3 separate regions of the Homo sapiens genome follow, and regions 2 and 3 are each linked to region 1. The links are contacts of gene promoters, found by promoter capture Hi-C in human tissues and cell types (Jung and others, 2019). All regions are on one chromosome and are shown on one strand. The core of a region is centred on a gene start or on the middle of the fragment in contact, and the rest is flanking DNA. Distances in the headings are between cores, read along the strand shown. Region 1 holds the start of ZC3H7A (zinc finger CCCH-type containing 7A). Region 2 overlaps SNX29 (sorting nexin 29). Region 3 has its middle 47 kb from the start of LITAF.

Region 1 (4,815 bases), core at 1,188-3,687:
AATTGTGGAACAATGTGGCTGACAAGCCACCATTCTTATTTGCAAAAACTGACAGAATCTGGGGAATGGGAAGGAAAGAGGGTGTAGGTCTGTGTAAAACCCCCAACGAAAAGTCACAGTAACATGAAGAAAGGCAGGAATTCTCCACTTCGTTTGGATGGCAGAAAATCAACGGGCTCTTTGTAGAATAAACACACACACACAAACACACACGCACAAATATTGATAATATTGAGCCTCAACAACTCATGATCTCATCCTGAGACAAACCTCATACAACTATTTGTAGCCTCCAGCATACAGCAGATAGGGAAAATTTTTCAACAGGGAAAATACTGTCCATTAACTTGAATTATTCTGCAAATTAGGACAAGACCCATTGTGCAATTCAGTTCAACAGTTTGGCTCAGTATGAGAAGGAAGAGGCAGTGGATTCTTTGAGAGCTTAAGGGAAGGAGGCCACATGCCATCAGAGAAGCAGGAAAGATAAGCAGATAGACATGTCTTCTCAGGGCCACCACCCATTCAGATGCCCCAGCTGCGCGCTGTCCAGTCGAAATATTGTACAAAATATATTACACAAAATAAGCCATACGTGTCATTGTATGTATGTATGTATGTACGCATGTATGTGGAGAGGGAGTCTCGCTCTGTTGCCCAGGGAGGAGTGCAGTGGCACAATCTCGGCTCACTGCAACCTCTGCCTCCCGGTTCAAACGATTCTCCTGCCTCAGCCTCCCCAGTAGCTGGGATTACAGGCGCCTGCCACCACGCCTGGCTGATTTTTGTATTTTTACTAGAGACGGGGTTTCTCCATGTTGGCCAGGCTGGTCTCGGAATTCCTGACCTCAGGTGATCCACACACCTCGGCCTCCCAAAGTGCTGGGATTACAGACGTTGAGCCACCCCGCCCGGCCCGTATATGTCATTTTAAATTTCCAAATAGCCACACTAAAAAAAGAGAAAAAGAAAAGCAGTGAGATTAACTTTTGTTTTTTTATTTGTTTGTTTTGAGACAGTGTCCCAGGCTGGAGCACAAAGGCACAATCTCAGCTCACCGAAGCCTCAATCTCCTGGGCTCAAGGGATTCTCCCACCCCAGCCTTCCGAGTAGCAGATTCTCCCACCTCAGCTTCCCGAGTAGCTGACTACCGGCGTGCGCCACCACGCCCAGTTAATTTTTTGTATTTTTTGTAGAGACAGGGGTCTCACTATGTTGCTGAGGCTGGTCTTGAACTCCTGCACTCAAACGATCCTCCTGCCTCAGCCTCCCAAAGTTTTGGGATGACAGGCATGAGCCACTGCATCCTGCCAAGATTAATTTTAATGATCTATTTTCGTTAATCCAATTTGTCCCAAACATGACCATCTCAACATGCATTTAAGTATAAAAGATTACCAATGACATCTTTTACTTTCTTTCTCATCCGAAGTTTTTAAAATCAGATGTACGTTTCACAGCTGGGACCGCAACTGAAACTGGCCCCATTTCGTGGGCTCCATCGTCCCAAACGGCGGGGGGTCAGTGGCCACCGTACTGGGCATGGCAAGGTCCTTCGTGGTTCAATACCGAACACGGGCAACTCCTTTTCATCCCTAGACAGGTGGGGACAGGAAAATACCCAACTCCTGGCAAATCCACCCAGTCCCGACTCAGGCTCGACCTCGGAGGCCCCGGCCGGGCCTCAGGCGGCCCCACCCCTTTGCTGCCCAGGCCTGACCGGAAGCCCCGCTAATGGGAACTGACAGGTCCCGGTCCCGGTCCTCCCGGGCGGCGCCCCCGCCTCCGCGGACCCCAAGGCCTCTCCCCGCCCGGCCCAGGGCTGCACCCCGCGCGAAAAAATAAAAAAATCAGAAAGGGGGGTAAAAAAGACGGATGAGCCCCAAATTAATGCGCCAAGCTCTCCGCCGGCATCCTTCCCGCCCCCAAGCCCAAGACGCTGAATCGGGATCCCCGCGATCACCAGAGCAGACAGAAATAACCAAAAAAAAAATTTTTTTTTAGTGAAATCACCAAAAAGGAGACATTTTGCCGAGGGAATGGCAGGCAGAAGTGGGTCACGTTATTCTCGGTGGGGGAAGGGGACGGCGCGCCCACCCGTCCCTCCGCGCGCACAGGCCCCGGCCCGGCTCCTCTCAGGGTCCTCTCGGGTCCGCGGGCCCCGGACCCCGCCGCCCCTCCCCCGCCCCGCCCGCCGTCCGTTAACGGCCGCGCGCGAGCACGAGGCGGCGGCGCGCGCGGGGGGGGCGGGGGCGCGGGCGCGCGCGTTTCCTTCATGCCCGGCGGCGTCCCCCTACCCCTACCTGTGGGGACGACGCGCCGGCCGGCGGCAGAAGGCAGGCGGAGGCGGGCGGCGGCAGGCGGGCAGCGGTGGCGGCGGCGGCGGCGGGGCCTGGGTGCTCGCTCGCAGCTCTCCCTCGGTTAGCGGCGGCGGCAGCGGCTCGGTTGCGCCCGCGGCGGCGCCCTCTAGCGGCGGGAGGCCGCGCTTGCCGCCCGGGAGACGCCGCCATTGGCTGCGCCGGAGCTACGGGCTGGGGGCGGTGGCGCCACGTCTGACTGGGGGCAGGGACCTGGGCGCGCCGTTCAATCCGGAGCCCCGGCGTCGACGCGCGGCCCACTGGGTGAGCCAATGGGAAGGCCACGTTGCGCACTGGACGCGCTCGGACTCAAGACTGATTAACCAGCACCGGGGTTTTCTGGGGCCTCGCCTGGGCCGCGGCCTGAGCAGAAGCGCTAGGAGGTAGAACAGCGTCCAGCGGGGAGAGGAGCTAGAGTCGGCATCGGGAAGCCCACCCTGGAGCCTGCTTAGCTTGACGAGCCCTCAACCGGGGCGCCCTGCTCTGCGAAGAGTAACCCTGCATCCTCAGAACAACCGTGATTGTCTTCATTCCTACATATGAGGAACGGAGGCGCGGAGCCCCACGGCAGCCGGGGATCCAAAGACAGCCTCCCTCCAGTTCCATCTGCCGGCTCTTGGAAGGCCTGGATCCCTGTCCTTCAGGGCCCAGCCCAAATGCCGCCTCGTCCATCTGCATTTTACGGCCAGGTGCCCCGCTGCGGGCACGGCTTCTTGTAAAATGCTCAGCTCAGCAGTGGGCGAGGCAGGGTCCCTGCCCCATGGGATGGAGGGCGGAGATCAGGACCCACAAGAGCCCAAAGAAGACCATTTTGGTCGGTGAAGACCAAAGAAATTCAAGCAGGAGGATGTGACAGGAGCTTTTGGGAAAGCCTCTGAGGAGGTGACAGCCATGCAACCGTGTTCGGGGAAGTGTGCCGCAGGCAGAGGGGAAATGAGTGCAAAAGCCCTGAAGCTGGAGTTCGGTGTCTGGATAACAGGAAAGGCCTGCATAGCTGATGTGTGCCAGAGGGGAGAAAGATCTGTGACACAGGGGGGCCGCCATGTTTAATTTGGAGTTTTGTGTGGAAGGGGGTCATTCATTGAGTCTGAATTGGGAGTTCCGAGGTCTCATTTATATTTTAGAAAGTTCTCTCCTGCTACTATGCAGAGATTGGGCTGTAGGAGAGACAAGAGGGGAAGTGGGGACTCTAGCTACAGTAGCTCTTCCAGGGGTCTGGGTGACGTAGATTTACAAACCAGAGTATTAGCTCAGGCTGCCATGACAAAATACCCCAGACCAGGCAGCTTAGACAACAGGAATTTATTTTCTCACAGTTTTAGAGGCTGCAAATCTAAGGTCTGGGTGCCGGCAGGGCTGGTTTCTGGTGAGGCCTCTCTCCCTGGCTTGCAAACAGCTGCCTTCTCACTGTGTCCTCCTATGACCTTTTCTCTGTGAGCAGGAATCCCTGGTGTGTCTTCCTTTTTCTTACAAGAACAACAATTTTACTAGATTAGGGCCCCACCCTATGACTTCATTTAACCCCAGTGACTACCTAAAAGGCCGTATTCAAATAGTCGTATTAGGCCAGGCGCAGTGGCTCACGCCTGTAATTCTAGCACTTTGGGAAGCCGAGGCAGATGGATTGCCTGAGCTCAGGAGTTGGAGACCAGCCTGGGCAACACAATGAGACCCCGTCTTTACTAAAATACAAAAAATTAGCCGGGCATGGCGACGTGCACATGTAATCCCAGCTACTCGGGAGGCTGAGGCAGGAGAATCGCTTGAACCTGGGAGGCAGAGGTTGCAGTGAGCTGAGATCGCGCCATTGCACTCCATATTGGGCGAGAGAGAGAGTCTGTACCAAAAAAAAAAAAAAAAGTATAAGGGTCCTATGACTTCATTTAACCCTAATGACTGCCTAATATGCCTAATAGCCATATTAGGGTTAGAGCTTCAACATACGGACTCCGGGGTGGGTATGTGCGGAGCGGGGAGCGTTTCAGTCCGTAACACCAGGTAAGTGCTGCAACAGATATTGGAGAGCTGATGGGCTGTGGTTTTAGGGAAGCTCCTCTAAGAAAGGGGTGGATTATACCGGGCGCACTGGCTCACATCTATAATCCCAGCACTTTGGGAGGCCGAGGCAGGGGGATCACGAGGTCAGAAGTTCAAGACCAGCTTGGCCAACATGGTGAAACCCTGTCTCTACTAAAAATACAAAAATTAGCCAAGCATGGAGGCAGGCGCCTGTAATCCCAGCTCCTGGGGAGGCTGAGGCAGGAGAATCACTTGAACCTGGGAGGTGGAGGTTGTGGTGAGTCGAGATCGCGCCACTGTACTCCAGCCTGGGCGACACAGCGAGACTCCGTCTCAAAACAAAATAAGAAAAAGAAAGGGGTGGATTATTCTCGTGACCAGAGGCTGCTCATCATTCAGGCCTCAACTACAGTAGCCTCTCTTGGAGAGGCCTTCACTG
Region 2 (4,815 bases), core at 1,307-3,806, 280 kb after region 1:
TGTCTATTAGATCTGCTTGGTGCAGAGCTGAGTTCAATTCCTGGGTATCCTTGTTGACTTTCTGTCTCGTTGATCTGTCTAATGTTGACAGTGGGGTGTTAAAGTCTCTCATTATTATTGTGTGGGAGTCTAAGTCTCTTTGTAGGTCACTCAGGACTTGCTTTATGAATCTGGGTGCTCCTGTATTGGGTGCATATATATTTAGGATAGTTAGCTCTTCTTGTTGAATTGATCCCTTTACCATTATGTAATGGCCTTCTTTGTCTCTTTTGATCTTTGTTGGTTTAAAGTCTCTTTTATCAGAGACTAGGATTGCAACCCCTGCCTTTTTTTTGTTTTCCATTTGCTTGGTGGCTCTTCCTCCATCCTTTTATTTTGAGCCTATGTGTGTCTCTGCACGTGAGATGGGTTTCCTGAATACAGCACACTGATGGGTCTTGACTCTTTATCCAATTTGCCAGTCTGTGTCTTTTAATTGGAGCATTTAGTCCATTTACATTTAAAGTTAATATTGTTATGTGTGAATTTGATCCTGTCATTATGATGTTAGCTGGTTATTTTGCTTGTTAGTTGATGCAGTTTCTTTCTAGTCTCGATGGTCTTTACATTTTGGCATGATTTTGCAGTGGCTGGTACCGGTTGTGCCTTTCCATGTTTAGTGCCTCCTTCAGGAGCTCTTTTAGGGCAGGCCTGGTGGTGACAAAATCTCTCAGCATTTGCTTGTCTGTAAAGTATTTTATTTCTCCTTCACTTATGAAGCTTAGTTTGGCTGGATATGAAATTCTGGGTTGAAAATTCTTTAAGAATGTTGAATATTGGCCCCCACTCTCTTCTGGCTTGTAAAGTTTCTGTCGAGAGATCCACTGTTAGTCTGATGGGCTTCCTTTTGTGGGTAACCCGACCTTTCTCTCTGGCTGCCCTTAACATTTTTTCCTTCATTTCAACTTTGGTGAATCTGACAATTATGTGTCTTGGAGTTGCTCTTCTCCAGGAGTATCTTTGTGGCGTTCTCTGTATTTCCTGAATCTGAATGTTGGCCTGCCTTGCTAGATTGGGGACGTTCTCCTGGATAATATCCTGTAGAGTGTTTTCCAACTTGGTTCCATTCTCCCCGTCACTTTCAGGTACACCAATCAGATGCAGATTTGGTCTTTTCATATAGTCCCATATTTCTTGGAGGCTTTGTTCGTTTCTTTTTATTCTTTTTTCTCTCAAATTCCCTTCTCACTTCATTTCATTCATTTCATCTTCCATCACTGATACCCTTTCTTCCAGTTGATCGCATCGGCTCCTGAGGCTTCTGCATTCTTCACCTAGTTGTCGAGCCTTGGCTTTCAGCTCCATCAGCTCCTTTAAGCACTTCTCTATATTGGTTATTCTAGTTATACATTCGTCTAAATTTTTTCAAAGTTTTCAACTTCTTTGCCTTTGGTTTGAATTTCCTCCTGTAGCTCAGAGTAGTTTGATCATCTGAAGCCTTCTTCTCTCAACTCGTCAAAGTCATTCTCCGTCCAGCTTTGTTCCGTTGCTGGTGAGGAACCGTGTTCCTTTGGAGGAGGAGAGGTGCTCTGCTTTTTAGAGTTTGCAGTTTTTCTGCTCTGTTTTTTCCCCATCTTTGTGGTTTCATCTACTTTTGGTCTTTGATGATGGTGATGTACAGATGGGTTTTTGGTGTGGATGTCTTTTCTGTTTGTTAGTTTTCCTTCTAACAGACAGGACCCTCAGCTGCAGTCTGTTGGAGTTTGCTAGAGGTCCACTCCAGACCCTGTTTGCATGGGTATCAGCAGCGGTGTCTGCAGAACCAGGGATTTTCGTGATCCGCGAATGCTGCTGTCTGATCGTTCCTCTGGAAGTTTTGTCTCAGAGGAGTACCCAGCCGTGTGAGGTGTCAGTCTGCCCCTACTGGGGGATGCCTCCGAGTTAGGCTGCTCAGGGGTCAGGGGTCAGGGACCCACTTGAGGAGGCAGTCTGCCCGTTCTCAGATTTCCAGCTGCGTGCTGGGAGAACTACTGCTCTCCTCAAAGCTGTCAGACAGGGACATTTAAGTCTGCAGAGGTTACTGCTGTCTTTTTGTTTGTCTGTGCCCTGCCCCCAGAGGTGGAGCCTACAGAGGCAGGCAGGCCTCCTTGAGCTGTGGTGAGCTCCACCCAGTTCGAGCTTCCTGGCTGCTTTGTTTACCTAAGGGAGCCTGGGCAATGGTGGGTGCCCCTCCACCAGCCTCGCTGCCGCCTTGCAGTTTGATCTCAGACTGCTGTGCTAGCAATCAGCGAGACTCCATGGGTGTAGGACCCTCCGAGCCAGGTGCGGGATATAATCTCCTCACGCGCTGTTTCCTAAGCCCTTCGGAAAAGCGCAGTATTTGGGTGGGAGTGGCCCGATATTCCAGGTGCCGTCTGTCACCCCTTTCCTTGAACAGGAAAGGGAACTCCCTGACCCCTTGCGCTTCCCGAGTGAGGCAATGCCTCACCCTGCTTTGGCTGGTGCATGGTGCGCTGCACCCACTGTCTGGCACTCCGTAGTGAGATGAACCCAGTGCCTCAGATGCAAATGCAGAAATCACCCATCTTCTGCGTCACTCACGCTGGGAGCTGTAGACTGGAGCTGTTCCTATTCGGCCATCTTGGCTCCTCCCTTTTTTTTTTTTTTTTTGAGACAGTCTTACTCTGTCGCCCAGGCTGGAGTGCAGTGGCACCATCTTGGCTCACTGCAACATCCGCCTCCTGGGTTCAAGTGATTCTCCTGCCTCAGCCTCCCAAGTACCTGGGATTACACATGTCCACCACCATGCCCGGCTAATTTTTGTATTTTTCAGTAGAGACGGAGTTTCGCCATGTTGGCTAGGCTGGTCTCGACCTCCTGACCTCATGTGATCCGCCTGCCTTGGCCTCCCAAAGTGCTGGGATTCCAGGCGTGAGCCACCACGCCCAGCCTGGTCATAACATTTTTATGTAGCCTGGGTGACAAAGCGAGACCCTGGATGCTTGGTGGCAGAACTGAAATGGACACCAAAGTCTTATGCCACTGCCATCCTTGCTGCTATTACCGTTTTCTTCTTCTGTCTCTCCTCTTGGCTGTAATTTGGGGTCCCAGGGTGCTATTACATCCTTATTTTCAAACCTAGCTCTAGAGTGGAACTTCCTGACTACCGTAAACCATATTAGATGCCATGGTCTTACCTGGAACAGTCAAGGGTTCTGCTCTCTCAAAATGACATTGCTTGTAGGAAGCTTGTCGCAGTTAGTTCAGTGTCAGAAGGAATTGGTGTTGCCAGACCCTTCCAGGGGGTGGAGTCTTTTTTTGCTATTTATTTTAGAAAATGTGACTAGGCATGGTGGCCCATGCCTGTAATCTCAGCACTTTGGGAGGCCAAGGTGGGAGGATTACTTGAGGCCGGGAGTTCAACACCACCAGTCTGGGCAAGTGAGACCCTGTCTTTACAAATAAAACAACAACAAAAATTATCCAGATGTGGTGGTGCATGCCTGTAGTGTCAGCTACTTGGGAGACTGATGTGGGAAGATCACTTGAACCCAGGAGTTCAAGCCTTCAGCGAGCTGAGATTGCACCACTGCACTCCAGCCTAGTTAACGGAGTGAGAACCTGTCTTAAAAAAAAAAAAATTGGAAAATGCAACAGTAAATGAAAAAAGAAAATCAGTCTTAACCCTCAACTTCATTATGTTGTTGATGTTTTGGTACTTTTCCTCCTAGTCATGGTGTGTGTGTGTGTGTGTGTGTGTGTGTGTGTGTGTGTGTGTATCTCTGTTAACCATGTGATGACCGTGCTGTTCTCACCAAAGACACTAAACTTTATTTTTCATGTTGTAAATTATTTGTAAACATACAGTTGATTCTTATTATTCCCAGTAGTTGTATTCTATAAAGTTGCTATGAAGACTGAACCAGTGCTCCTAGGGGAAGTACATGGTTAAGTTGCTTTGAGGCTCTGGTCACACATTTTGTTTTTGAGATGAACTGTTGCTCTTTTGCCCGGGGCTGGAGTGCAGTGGCGTGATCTTGGCTCACTGCAACCTCTGTTTCCTGGGTTGAAGTGATTCTCCTGCCTCAGCCTCCCAAGTAGCTGGGATTACAGGCATGTGCTACCACACCCAGATAATTTTTGTATTTTTAGTAGAGAAGGGGTTTTGCCATGTTCGCCAGGCTGGTCTCGAACTCCTGACCTCATGTGATCCACCCGCCTCGGCCTCCCAAAGTATTGCGATTACAGGCATGAGCCACCACACCTGGCCTGGTCACAGCATTTTTATCAACTGATCAACACATAACCTGGTTTTATGTCTGTTCCTGTTTAAAGACACCTTGTTTAATGTATGCAGTTGATTCATTAACATTGAATTCACAGCCAGCAGCACTGTAAGCCATGCCTGAATGAAGCATCTCTAACTCACAAATTATCTCCATACGGCACATCACAGCCTTCCTGTGCTTAGGAACTGTCGGCAGTACCACTTCAGCACTGTGCTTGGGGACATTTTAAACAATAAAATCAAGTGGAAAAAAAGGCCGGGTGTGGTGGGTCATGCCTGTAATCCCAGCACTTTGGGAGGCTGAGGCAGGTGGATCACTTGAGGTCAGGACTTTGAGACCAGTCTGGCCAACTTGGCGAAACCCCATTTCTAGTAAAAATACAAGAATTAGTCGGGTGTGGTGGTGCGGGCCTGTAATCCCAGCTACTTGGGAGGCTGAGGCACAAGAATCGCTTGAACCCAGGAGGTGGAGGTTACAGTGAGCCGAGATCACGCAAAAGAAAGAAAAGTGGAAAAAAAAATGCTAAAAACATGGCAGTAAATAGACA
Region 3 (4,815 bases), core at 708-3,207, 260 kb before region 1:
CCCTTTACATGATACGTACAGAATGGGCAAATCTATAGAGCTGGAGAGTAGATCAGTTGATTGCCAGGGGCTGGGAGTGGCAGGGAGAGGAGATTGAGAGTCGTCAACTAAAGGGTACGGGATTTTTGGTTTTGTTTTGAGACCATATCTCATTCTGTCACCCAGGCTGGAGAGCAGTGGTATGATTTCAGCTCACTGCAATCTCTGCCTCCCAGGTTCAAGCAATTCTCCTGCCTCAACCTCCTGAGTAGCTGAGATTATAGGCACCTGCCATCATGCCCGGCCAATTTTTGTATTTTTGTAGAGACAAGTCACCATGTTGGCCAGGCTAGTCTGGAACTCCTGACCATAGGTGATCTGCCCAGCTCAGCCTCCCAAAGTGCTGGGATTACAGGCGTGAACCGCCACACTTGGCCCGGGGTTTCTTTTTGAGCTGATGAAAATGCTAAACTTGATTGTGGTAATGGTTGCACAACTTTGTGAATATAATAAAAACCGATTAAATCATTATGCTTTAAAACTTTATGTTTTAGAGACAGGGTCTTGCTCCTGTTGCCCAGGCTGGAGTGCAGCGGTGCAATCACAGCTCACTGCAGCCTTGACCTCGGCGCGGCTCAAAAAATCCTCCTTCCTCAGCTTCCTCAGTAGCTGGGACTGCAGGCACGCACCACCACGCCCAACGACATTTTTAAGACAGAATCTCGCTCTGTCGCCCAGGCTGGAGTGCAGTGGCACGATCTCAGCTCACTGCAAGCTCCGCCTCCCAGGTTCACACCATTCTCCTGCCTCAGCCTCCCGAGTAGCTGGGACTACAGGCGCCCACCACCACGCCAGGCTAATTTTTTGTATTTTTAGTAGAGATGGGGTTTCACCGTGTTAGCCAGGATGGTCTTAATCTCCTGACCTCGTGATCCACCTGCCTCGGCCTCCCAAAGTGCTGGGATTACAGGCGTGAGCCACCGCGCCTGGCCCGTTTTTTTTTTTTTTTTTTTTTTTTTTTTTAAAGAGACCGAGTCTCACCTTGTTGTCCAGGTTGGTCTTCAACTTCTGGCCTACACCAACCCTCCCACCTTGGCCTCCCAAAGTGCTGGATTACAGGTGTAAGCCACCACGCCCGGCTGAATTGTACACTTTAAATGGGTGAATTGTGTGACATGTAGATAACATCTCAATAAAGCTATTGCCAAAGAAGCCAAAAAGTTCTTACCGCAAAGCCCTGTGTGAGTGGCTGTTATACAGCAGAGTCTACGATGGGGTCTGAAACCTTCTCCCTGCGTTAGGAGGCCTGCCTCTCCCGGCACTTTTCCCATTTCTTGGCTACTCAGAGATGCACCAGCCACTTCACCTGTGGCTCAGCTCTATAATCGACCCCTGCTTCCAATCCCCACGTCCTCCAAGCAGAAATACGCCTGCCCAGGATCACAGGTACCCTAGCTGCTAAGGCCTCCGTGGTAATGAGCCCTTATGTAAAGACGACAGCCCCGTGCCCAGTCCCCTTCCTGCCCTTGCTTCCAGGGAATGGGCCCTATTAGCCATGCCCTGAGCAGGACACACGTGCAGCCCTAGATCTGTAGACGCAAGACTCACTCCAAAGATGGGATTCTCAGCTCAGGGAGGGAGGGAGGCAGCCCCCAGGGCCCACCGGTGGAAGGAATGTGGGGGCCTTCGAATGACCTGCAAAGGTGGCTCCTGGCCCCATCCTCACCTGAGCCAGATGTGTGAATACAGACGCCCGCCCCTGGCAGCAGACAGTGGGAAGGAGACACAGGGGGCTGATTCTTGCAAAGTTGAGTGTCATTTCTTGGCTTGCTCTGCTCCTGCGTATCAAAGCTGACCACAGCCTGGTGCTCATTGAGACCTGTGTCTCAAGGGTTTCCTAGTTTACCGAAGAGCTGGCTCCGGTGGGCTGTAGGGCAAACGCACCTGAACGCAATAACCTGCGCACATCCTTAGGATGACCTGGATGGCAGACTCACCTGAATGTGAGTCCCAGCTACGGAATCCGGGAATGGCCAACCTGGAGATTTGTTTCCTGTCTATGAGAAACATCTGAGCCCCTGGCCCATCCCATGAAACACAGGCCCTCCAAGGGATGGAGGCTCTGAGTTTTAGGTTACATGAAGGTTGCCAGGTGGAGGTCGTTAAGGGGAGGGTGTTAAGTGAAAATGCTGAATAAACTGCATGCTGTTTGCAAGTGGCTGCAGTTTCCCTCTCCAGCCCACCAGCACCTGCACTCTCTCCCCTGTGTCTAAGTCCCGAATCAAACCCAATGTCTCCTTTGCTGGCTCTGCATTTCTTCTTCAGCCTCTTGAACTTGTTACCTCCCTAGTGAAACTAACAGGGTTTCAGCACAACATAGGCCAAAACAGCAAGCCCCTAGCATATTCCAGCATGTTCTGGAATGTTCCAGCAGGTACTGTCTTCTCCCCTAGACCTGTCCATTTCCCAACACAGACATTTAGCGCTGGAGGAATCAGCCTACCTCTTCTTCGAAAGGAGAGGAACTCGGTGTGGGAAGCTCAAATGAGTTGTCCCAGCCCTGCAGCAGGTTGCAAGTAGCTCAGTCATGGTTCTTGATGAATCAAATGCTTTCACTTTACTTTCTTCCCTAATTCAACAAGCATGTCCTATACATTTTAACCCAACATTGTACTGGTTCCAAAGATGTTGATACTGAGGTCCTGTCCTCAGATTCTACCATTTGCTTTATAAGTATTATTTAATTATACATTATAGTCTTTTTTTTTTTTTTTTTTTTTTTGAGACAGAGTCTCGCTCTTGTTGCCTAGGCTGGAAAGCAATGGTGTGATCTCAGCTCACCACAACCTCTGCCTCCCAGGTTCAAGCAATTCTCCTGCCTCAGCCTCCCGAGTAGCTGGGATTACAAGCATGTGCTACCACGCCTGGCTAATTTTGTATTTTTAGTAGAGATGGAGTTTCTTCATGCTGGCCAGGCTGGTCTCGATCTCCCGACCTCAGTTGATCCGCCTGCCTTGGCCTCCCAAAGTGCTGGGATTACAGGTGTGAGCCACCGTGCCTGGCCATTATATTATAGTCTTAACACAGTTGGTAATGGTTACTACCTCACTGAAACCTCCATTCTGATTTACGCTGCATCCACAGTTCACTCTATCCTCATTTTACCAATTGTCACATGAAACAATACAAATTGGTGTATTTTCTTTGATCGAGGTGAGATTCACCTAGTACAATTAAACAATTTTACAGTGACCAATTCAGTGGCATCAGCACATCCACATTGTTGTACAACTGCCACCTCTATCTCGTTGCAAAACATTTTCTTTTTCTTTCTTTTTCTTTTTTTTTTTTTTTTTTTTTTGAGACAGGGTGTCACTCTGTCGTCCAGGCTGGAGTGCAGTGGCACAATCATGGCTCACTGCAGCCTTGACTTCCCAGGCTCAAGCGATCCTCCCACCTCAGCCTCCCCAGTAGCTGGGACTACAGGTGCCTGCCATTACACCAATCTATTTTTTTTTTTTTTTTGCATGTCTTTGTAGAGAGAGGGTTTCACCATGTGGCCCAGGCTGGTCTCAAACTCCTAGGCTCAAGCGACCCTCCTGCCTCGACCTCCCAAAGTGTTGGGATTACAGGCATGAGTCACCACGCCTGGACTGCAAAACATTTTCCTCACCCCCAAAGGAGACCCCAGATCCATGAAGCAGTCACTTCCCATTCTCCCCTCTTCCCAGCCCCTGACAACCACCAATTTGTCATCTGTATCTATGGATCACCTATTCTGCATATTTCACATAAATGGAATCATACAACAGGTGACCTTTGCTGCCTGGCTTCTTTCACGTGGCATAACGTTTCCAAGGCTCATCCACACTGTAGTATGTGTTAGTGCTGCATTCCTTGTTATGGAAATTGGTGTATTTTAACCATGTTTGGGTCAGTGACAGACACTCGATCCCCAAACATTGGAAATGTTTCCTTTGACCCATGCACTTTGCCCAGGTGTTCTCAATGAGGTGATTTGATTTTGTTTCTCCAGAGACATTTAGTGATGTCTGGAGTATTTTTTTTTTTTTTTTTGAGACAGAGTTTCACTCTTTCGCCCAGGCTGGAGTGTAGTGGCGCGATCTTGGCTCATCGCAACCTCTGCCCCCGGGTCCAAGCGATTCTCCTTGGCTCAGCCTGCCGAGTAGCTGGGATTACAGGCGCCCGCCACTACGCCCAGCTAATTTTTGTATTTTTAGTAGAGATGGGGTTTCATCATGTTAGCCAGGCTAGTCTCGAACTCCTGACCTCAGGTGATCCACCTGCCTTGGCCTCCCAGAGTGCTAAGATTACAGGCATGAGCCACTCTGCCTGGCCTGGAGTATTAATATTTTTGATTGTCACAACTGGGGACTGCTACTGGCATCTATCTCTGGGTAGAGGCCAGGGATGCTGCTACACATCTTCCAATGCACAGGATGGACTCAGAACAAGGAATGATCTACCCCAAGGTGTCAATAGTGCCAAGGTCAAGAACCCTGATTTCAGTTCCTTCTGTCTGGCTGATCTGATCCCCAGGCCCCATGGAACAACATTTCTTAACATTGCCAGCCCTTAGGAAACACCCCGGCACTCCTTTCTCATTCTCTTTCTTTCTCTTTTTCTTTCTCATTCTCTTTCTTGCTCTTTCTTTCACTCTTTTTCAAGAGATGAGGTCTCCCTATGTTGCCCATGCAGGAGTACAGTGGCACAGTAATAGCTCACTGCAGCCTCTAACTCCTGGGCTCAAACAATCCTCCCACCTCAGCCTCCCAAGCAGTTGGGACTACAACGGGCACCACCACACCCTGCCTT

The links. Contacts are between HindIII fragments. The study calls those that stand out against the background at their distance.
Region 2: a contact is called between a fragment that was not itself captured here and the fragment with the promoter of ZC3H7A in region 1, in 1 of the 25 tissues and cell types used here (H1 embryonic stem cells).
Region 3: a fragment that was not itself captured here is called in contact with the fragment with the promoter of ZC3H7A in region 1 in 3 of the 25 tissues and cell types used here (IMR-90 fibroblasts, aorta and lymphoblastoid cells).

What each region holds. Positions count from the first base shown.
Region 1 is chr16:11,794,821-11,799,635 of GRCh38, forward strand. ZC3H7A (zinc finger CCCH-type containing 7A) reads right to left here and starts at 2,438. Exons shown (of 23, transcript NM_014153.4): 1 at 2,304-2,438. RefSeq lists silencers at 1,670-1,829, 2,312-2,721 and an enhancer at 2,137-2,674. The HindIII fragment of the contact is 23,320 bases long and covers 1-4,815 here.
Region 2 is chr16:12,073,672-12,078,486 of GRCh38, forward strand. The region is part of intron 10 of SNX29 (sorting nexin 29); the gene reads left to right. Among named protein-coding and RNA genes, the nearest start is that of SNX29, 99 kb to the left of the region's middle. RefSeq lists an enhancer at 1,708-2,258. The HindIII fragment of the contact is 5,487 bases long and covers 1-4,815 here.
Region 3 is chr16:11,537,421-11,542,235 of GRCh38, forward strand. No RefSeq gene overlaps it. Among named protein-coding and RNA genes, the nearest start is that of LITAF, 47 kb to the right of the region's middle. The HindIII fragment of the contact is 8,104 bases long and covers 1-4,815 here.